Regions from separate parts of the Homo sapiens genome. Here region 2 is linked to region 1. The links are contacts of gene promoters, found by promoter capture Hi-C in human tissues and cell types (Jung and others, 2019). All regions are on one chromosome and are shown on one strand. The core of a region is centred on a gene start or on the middle of the fragment in contact, and the rest is flanking DNA. Distances in the headings are between cores, read along the strand shown. Region 1 holds the start of NPLOC4 (NPL4 homolog, ubiquitin recognition factor). Region 2 has its middle 5.7 kb from the start of RENO1.

The links. The method cuts DNA at HindIII sites, captures the fragments that hold promoters and counts their contacts. A contact is called where the count stands out against the background at its distance.
Region 2: a contact is called between a fragment that was not itself captured here and the fragment with the promoter of NPLOC4 in region 1, in 2 of the 25 tissues and cell types used here (dorsolateral prefrontal cortex and thymus).

Annotation. Positions count from the first base shown.
Region 1 is chr17:81,635,149-81,639,070 of GRCh38, reverse strand. NPLOC4 (NPL4 homolog, ubiquitin recognition factor) reads left to right here and starts at 1,959. Exons shown (of 17, transcript NM_017921.4): 1 at 1,959-2,155. The coding sequence starts at 2,141. TSPAN10 (tetraspanin 10) reads right to left here and starts at 1,875. Exons shown (of 4, transcript NM_001290212.2): 1 at 1,665-1,875. RefSeq lists a silencer at 2,020-2,229. The HindIII fragment of the contact is 41,196 bases long and covers 1-3,922 here.
Region 2 is chr17:81,349,772-81,353,693 of GRCh38, reverse strand. No RefSeq gene overlaps it. Among named protein-coding and RNA genes, the nearest start is that of RENO1, 5.7 kb to the right of the region's middle. The HindIII fragment of the contact is 3,176 bases long and covers 296-3,471 here.

The DNA of each region.
Region 1 (3,922 bases), core at 710-3,209:
CTTGTTCATTCCTGGGTGTAGGCTGAAATAACTTCGGGAGGCGCTTAGTTTATAGTTTAGCTTTGAAACAAAGATGGTAACAGCCCTTTGCAAAACAAACTCCCTTCCTACCTGGGGACAAGACTGCCTTTTCAGGACTAACAAATTAGCCATAAGATTAGAAATTATGGTTTAGGAGTCATGTAGCTGGAGGCTACAAGATTCTAAACCTCCCAAATTGCTTCTCAGGATAACATCACTATTAAAAAACAGATCAGCGCTTGAGATATTTTGCAGACTCTGCACTCCATGGATCAGCTGGCACCACCCAGATTGATAAACTGGCTCATATCTTGTGGCCCCCACCCAGGAACCGACTCAGCACAAGAGGACAGTTTTGACTCCCTATCATTTCACCTCTGACCCAACCAATCAACACTCCCTACTTTCTGACCCCATACCCACCAAATTATCCTTAAAACCGCGGATCCCCAGCCGGGCACGGTGGCTCACGTCTATAGTCCCAGCACTTTGGGGAGGCCCAGGTGGGCGGATCACCTGAGGTCAGGAGTTCAAGACCAGCCTGACCAACATGGAGAAACTCCGTCTCTACGAAAAATACAAAATTAGCCAGGCATGGTAGTGTGCGCCTGTAGTCCCAGCTACCCGGGAGGCTGAGGCAGGAGAATCACTGGAACCCAGGAGGTGAAGGTTGCAGTGAGCCGAGATCGCGCCACTGCACTCCAGTGTGGGTGACAGAGTGAGATTCGGACTCAAAAACAAAAAAAAACAAAAAACAAAAAACTCTGATCCCTGAATTCTCAAGGACACTAATTTTTTTTGAGTAGTAATAAAACCTCAGTAACCTGTACAAGCTGGCTCTGTGTGAATTAAACTCTTTATTGCAATTCCCCTGTCTTGATAAAGTCTAGGCAGTGGGCAGGGACAATATGTTGGGTAGTTACAGTGGCACCCTGAGCAAACTAATACAATTACTAACATAATTTAATCAATTAATGTAATTTAACATAGTTTAAAAAAACTGTCACAGTAATTGTGATGTTGTGAAATATGTATACATTTAGTCTTCCGGTTTCCTGGTATCCAACTCCAAAAATCCTTAGAATCTGTGAAGTGACGTCTTTTTTTTTTTTTTTTGAGATGAAGTCTCACTCTGTCGCCCAGACTGGAGTGCAGTGGCACCAACTCAGTTCATTCTAACCTCCGCCTCTTCGCTTCAAGAGATTCTCCGGCCTCAGACTCCCGAGTAGCTGGGATTACAGGTGCCCGCCACCACGCCCAGTTAATTTTTGTATTTTTAGTAGAGACGGGGTTTCACCACGTTGGTCAGGCTGGTCTTGAACTCCTGACCTCAGGTGATCCACCTGCCTCGGCCTCCCAAAGTGCTGGGATTACAGGCGTGAGCCACCGCGTATGGCCTAATTTTGTATTTTGAGTAGAGACGGGGTTTCACCATTTTGGCCAGGCTGGTCTCGAACTTTTGACCTCAGGTGATCCGTCCACCTTGGCTTCCCAAAATGCTGGGATTACAGGTATGAGCCACCGCGCCCGGCCTGAAATGCAGTTTAAACTCGTTTGTTTTTCTTATGTTAAATTTAAAAAATACTTAAAAAAAAAAACATGAAGGTGTGATCCTGCCTTCCTGAAATTGTTTCTCTACTTACCTGTGCATGGAGAGAAGTTTGGAATGCTGTTTCCCCAATTATAATACGCTATAATACGCAGCAGTAGTTATTTTTGGGTGAGACTTCGGATGCTCGTCTTTGCTTCCTTTTTGGACTTTCCTGTGCCGCTTGGGTTTCCGAGGACGAGCAGAAGTAATCTCAGACGCAACTTTCCAAAATCCCCTCCTCCAGTTGCAGGGATGGCGGGGGCGGGTCAGCGGCGCCGCCCTGCGCATGCGTCGAGCCGTTGGTGGGGCCGGAACCTGGTTTCCCGGCCTCGCGCCCGAGGGGAGCGTATTGAGCGAGGCACCGGGACGTCGGCGGCTGGCGGAGCCGGGCGGGCGAAGCTGGAGCGGCGGTGGCGGCGGCGTAGGGAGGCCGGGGCCGGGGCTGAGGCCGCGGCCGGGTCTGCGAGGCCCTTGGGGCGGCAGGCGGCGGCGGCCCGGGGCTCGAGCCCGGAGGCAGGAGCAGCCGCCATGGCCGAGAGCATCGTGAGTGCGGCGGCCGGGCGGGAGCGGGGACGCCGGGATGAGGCAGCAGATTTGCCGGCCTCGGCCTGTGGGGGAGGCGGGCCTGCCGGCGCCGCGACTCGGCCCCTTTCTCTTCTCTCGCCAGGGCTTTCTCTGTAGTGGCTGGGCCCCTCTCGGGGACTTTCACCCCCCTCGGCTGCTTCCCGTCCGTGTCCCTCCCCAGGGGACTTACGACCCCGGTTCCCCGCCCTGGGCAGGGAAAGGCCGAGCCTTTCTAAGCAGGGAGAATGGACTGTGGCGAAGAGAAACCGCCCTCCTTCCCCACCCGTTTCCCGGCTCCAGGAGACTTCCTGGTCTAATTCCAGGGACTCCCAGCCAGTCCTGCCCCTCTCAGAGCCAGGGACACCTCTTATCCTAATCTCCCTCTGATTCTCTCCTCCTGCTCTCCCGCTTCCCAGCAAGTGCCTTGTCATGAGTCACTAAGGAGAGCAGCTCTGCAGACGGGGACGTTACAGAGCTCCCTCCCCACCAGAAGACCTGGGAAAATGAAAACACAGTAACTTGCCGGCTTTGCTCCTTACTTGGAAGGACAACTTGACAATTCCTCTTTAAAAGGAATGTTGTAAATGATGTTGATTTCACTTTTTACCTGAAATTGAAATTGTCGGCCCGGCGCAGTGGCTCACGCCTGTGATGTCAGCACTTTGGGAGGCCGAGGCGGGTGGATCACCTGGGGTCAGGAGTTCGAGACCATCCTGGCCAACATGGCAAAATCTTGTCTCTACTAAAAATACAAAAAATTAGCCGGGCGTCATGGCGCACTGTAATCCCAGATACTTGGGAGGCTGAGGCAGGAGAATTGCTTGAACGCGGGAGGTGGAGGTTACAGTGAGCTGAGATCCCTCCATGGCACTCCAGCCTGGGCTATAGAGCGAGACTGCGTCTCAAAAAAAAAAAAAAAATTGTCACACACTCCTCCTTAACGTAAAAAATATCAGTGACAAATCAGAAAACCAGTCCCTCGTTAAGTTGTGAGAAGTTTCTTCCCAAAAGTAAATGTGATGGGAAAAAAACTAACTGACCATTGGACAGGAGCATTTTGGTTAATATTAAGGAAGATTTGGGATTTCTGGGGGAAGCTTAGCAGTATTGGGTGAAGAGTAATGTTCATACTGTAGCATTGTGACAGTCTCTGCAGTTTTGCCAGGTGTTGTCTAGAATAGGTCTCCAGGCCCGGCGCGGTGACTCACACCTGTAATCCCAGCACTTTGGGAAGCCCAGGTGGGTGGATCACCTGAGGTCAGGAGTTCAAGACCAGCCTGGACAACATAGTGAGCCTAGGTGGCGTCACTGGACTCCACCCTGGGCGACAGAATGAGACTGTCTCACACACACAAACAAATGGGTCTCCAGGAGAACCTAGCACTTATTTGCAAGGCTGTTCTCTGGTGGTTCCATCATCTCTCCAGTCAGGGGCCCTCTTGGTGCCTCCATGTTTCCCAACCTGGAGATGAGTGGAATGAATATATGGCCCAGGAGAAACTTAGGAAACGTCGACTCCTTTTTTTTTTTTTTTTTTAACCTTATTTTATTTTTTTGAGATGGAGTCTCACTCTGTCGCCCAGGCTGGAGTTCAGTGGTGCGATCTCTGCTTACTGCAACCTCCGCCTCTCGGGTTCAAGAAATTCTCCTGCCTCAGCCGAGTAGCTGGGGTTGCAGGTGCTCGCCAACACGCATGGCTGATGTCTTTTTTATTTTTAGTGGTGATGGGGTTTCACCGTGTTGGCC
Region 2 (3,922 bases), core at 634-3,133, 290 kb after region 1:
AGCACTTTGGAGGCCGAGGCAGGTGGATTACTTGAGATCAGGAGTTTAAGACCAGCCTGGCTGGCTGGGCGTGGTGGCTCACGTCTGTAACCCCAGCACTCTGGGAGGCCGAGGTGGGCCGACCATGAGGTCAGGAGATCAAGACCATCCTGGCCAACATGGTGAAATCCCGTCTCTACTAAAAATACAAAAATAAGCCAGACGTGGTGGCGTGCGCCTATAGTCCCAGCTCCTTGGGAGGCTGAGACAGGAGAATCGCTTAAACCCGGGAGGCAGAGGTTGCAGTGAGCCGAGATGGCGCCACTGCACTCCAGCCTAGGCGACAGGGCAAGACTCCGTTTCCAAAAAAAGATATCTGCAACAATCGCAGCATGATTTGAGTCATTTTAGTTATTTTAGTTATGTCATACATTCATCACTGAAGGAAATGTCAAATTTTGGTTAGAGACCAGTGAAAATAAATAATGAGTTGGGGCTGATTAGAAAAAAAAAGAAAGTGGGGCGGGGTGAGGTGGCTCATGTCTGTAATCCCAGCACTTTGGGAGGTCAAGGAGGGAGGATCACTTGAGGCCAGGAGTTTCAGACCAGCCTGGAAAACATAGCAAGACCTCATCTCTACAAAGCAAACATGAAAAATTAGCTGGGTGTAGTGGCTCAAACCCTCTGGTCCCAGCTACTTGGGAGGCTGAGGTGGGAGGATTGCGTGACCCTGGGAGGTGGAGGCTGCAGTGACTCCTGTGCTGTACTACAGTGACCCTGCTGCTGTACTCCCTGTCTCAAAACACTCCACAAAACCAAACGAGCCCAATTTTTTATTTATTTATTTATTTATTTTTGAGACGGAGTCTTGCTCTGTCACCCAGGCTGGAGTACAGTGACGCGATCTCGGCTCACTGCAAGCTCCGCCTCCTGGGTTCACGCCATTCTCCTGCCTCGGCCTCCCAAGTAGCTGGGACTACAGGCGCCCGCCACCACGCCCGGCTAATTTTTTGTATTTTTAGTAGAGATAGGGTTTTACCGTGTTAGCCAGGATGGCCTCGATCTCCTGACCTCGTGATCCACCCGCCTCGGCCTCCCAAAGTGCTGCGATTGAGAGGTGACAGCGTGTGGCAGTCCTCACAGCCCTCGCTCGCTGTCGGCGCCTCCTCTGCCTGGGCTCCCACTGGCGGCACTTGAGGAGCCCTTCAGCCCGCCGCTGCACTGTGGGAGCCCCTTTCTGGGCTGGCCAAGGCCGGAGCCGGCTCCCTCAGCTTGCGGGGAGGTGTGGAGGGAGAGGCGCGAGAGGGAACTGGGGCTGCGTGCGTCGCTTGCGGGCCAGCTGGAGTTCCGCGTGGGCTTGGCGGGCTCCGCACTCGGAGCAGCCGGCCGGCCCTGCCAGCCCCGGGCAATGAGGGGCTTAGCACCCGGGCCAGCGGCTGCGGAGGGTGTGCTGGGTCCCCCAACAGTGCCGGCGCACCGGCGCTGCGCTGGATTTCTCGCCAGGCCTTAGCTGCCTTCCCGTGGGGCAGAGCTGGGACCTACAGCCTGCCATGCCTGAGCCTCCCGTCCCCGCCCCGCGCCCCCCACCCGTGGGCTCCTGTGCAGCCCGAGCCTCCCCGACGAGCGCCACCCCCTGCTCCACGGCGCCCAGTCCCATCGACCACCCAGGGGCTGAGGAGCGTGGGCGCACGGCGCGGGATTGGCAGGCAGCTCCACCTGCAGCCCCAGTGCGAGATCCACTGGGTGAAGCCAGCTAGGCTCCTGAGTCTAGTGGGAACTTGAAGAACTTTATGTCTAGCTAAGGGATTGTAAATACACCAATCGGCACTCTGTATCTAGTCCAAGTTTTGTAAACACACCAATCAGCACCCTGTGTCTAGCTCAGGGTTTGTGAATGCACCAATCGACACTCTGTATCTAGCTACTCTGGTGGGGCCTTGGAGAACCTTTGTGTAGACACTCTGTATCTAGCTAATCGGGTGGGGACGTGGAGAACCTTTGTGTCTAGCTCAGGGATTGTAAACACACCAATCAGTGCCCTGTCAAAACAGACCACTGGGCTCTACCAATCAGCAGGATGTGGGTGGGGCCAGATAAGAGAATAAAAGCAGGCTGCCCGAGCCAGCAGTGCCAACCTGTTCTGGTCTGCTTACACGCTGTGGAAGCTTTGTTCTTTCGCTTTTTGCAATAAATCTTGCTACTGCTCACGCTTTGGGTCCACACTGCCTTTATGAGCTGTAACACTCACCCCGAAGGTCTGCAGCTTCACTCTTGAAGCCAGCGAGACCACGAGCCCACCGGGAGGAAGGACAACTCCAGACGCGCTGCCTTAAGAGCCGTAACACTCACCGCGAAGGTCCGCAGCTTCACTCCTGAGCCAGCGAGACCACGAACCCACCAGAAGGAAGAAACTCCGAACGCATCTGAATATCAGAAGGAACAAACTCCAGACACGCCGCCTTTAAGAACTGTAACACTCACCGTGACGGTCCACGGCTTCATTCTTGAAGTCAGTGAGACCAAGAACCCACCAATTCCAGATACAGGATTACAAGTGTGAGCCACCGTGCCCGGCCTCTATTTATTTTTTATAATTTTTGAGACAGAGTCTTACTTTGTTGTCCAGGTTGGAGTGCAATGACGCAGTCCTGGCTCACTGCAACTTCTGCCTCCCGGATTCAAGTGATTCTCCTGCCTCAGCCTCCTGAGTAGCTGGGATTACAGGCACCCGCCACCACGCCCAGCTCATTTTTGTATTTTTAGTAGGGACAGGGTTTCACCATGTTGGTCAAGCTGGTCTCAAATGCCTGACCTCAAGCAATCCACCCGCCTTGGCCTCCCAAAATGCTGGGATTACAGGCGCGAGCCACTGTGCCCAGCCCCAAAGCTTATTTTTATTTGTTCACATGAATGCAGTTTTCTTGGTTATTATTTCTGAATCTTCTTGTAAATTTTTGAATACTACCTAAAATTATGAGGAAGGAAGCAAAAATCTGAGTTCACTTCCCCAGATTCTTTTTTTAAAGAACAAAATCTCTTTTCTCTCTGAAGCTATTACTGGTGTTTTTGAACACTGTGTGTTCTGAAACTCTTGCTCAGTGCAAGTTACACAACTGTAGCAAATAGACCCCAAACGTAGCTGCCCATGCCAGCCCGCGGCTTATTTATCCCTGACCTGCCCAAGCAAGTGCTCCTGCGGGGTGGGGCCTGGTTGGGCCCCAGGCTGAAGGCTGCCCTGTCATCTTGCACATTTGTCTTCCACAGTCTCTCTGATGTGCCCATTTCAGCCATCAGAAGGGGGAACCCTAAAAGCCTCCTGGAAGGGTGACCTGCTCCTGAAACTGGTGCACACTGCTTCTGCCAGATTCTGTTGGACACCACGGTTACCCAGCCACACCTACTGCGAGGGAGCCTGGGAATGCAGACCAGCCAGGGGCCCCATGAGAAGGGGTAACGGCTTCTGTTGGACAGCCGGACGGCAGCCAGCCAGCCCTTGGCCTCCAGACATCTGTGAGACCCACCCTTCCTCCACACATCGTGTTAGAAAAAGTCACCATCATCTCCAGGGAGAAGACCCAGCCCAAAGCCTGCCTCTCTAGGATGGGCAGAGCCTTTCCGTGGGTCCCGATGACTGTCTTCCGGGTCCAACTGACAGATGATTCATTAAGCCATCTGCTCCCCTCCCCCCGCAACCTGAGCCTTCATCTGATCTTTGCCGTAGGCCTGCACACTTTTGTTGGACTGAGCTGCCTGAGTGACAGGCCTTGAACAGCCACCATCTTTTCTCCTACTGTTTGAGGCATAAACAGTGGCTTTTTCAACCTGGGAGTCCCAACTTTCTGGGGTAACTCTAATTGCAAACCGGCCCTCAATTTCTGGAAACAGTAGTCAAGCTACAGGGAATGAGTGCCTCGCGCTAACCTTCTGGCTCTTTCCTCCCTCT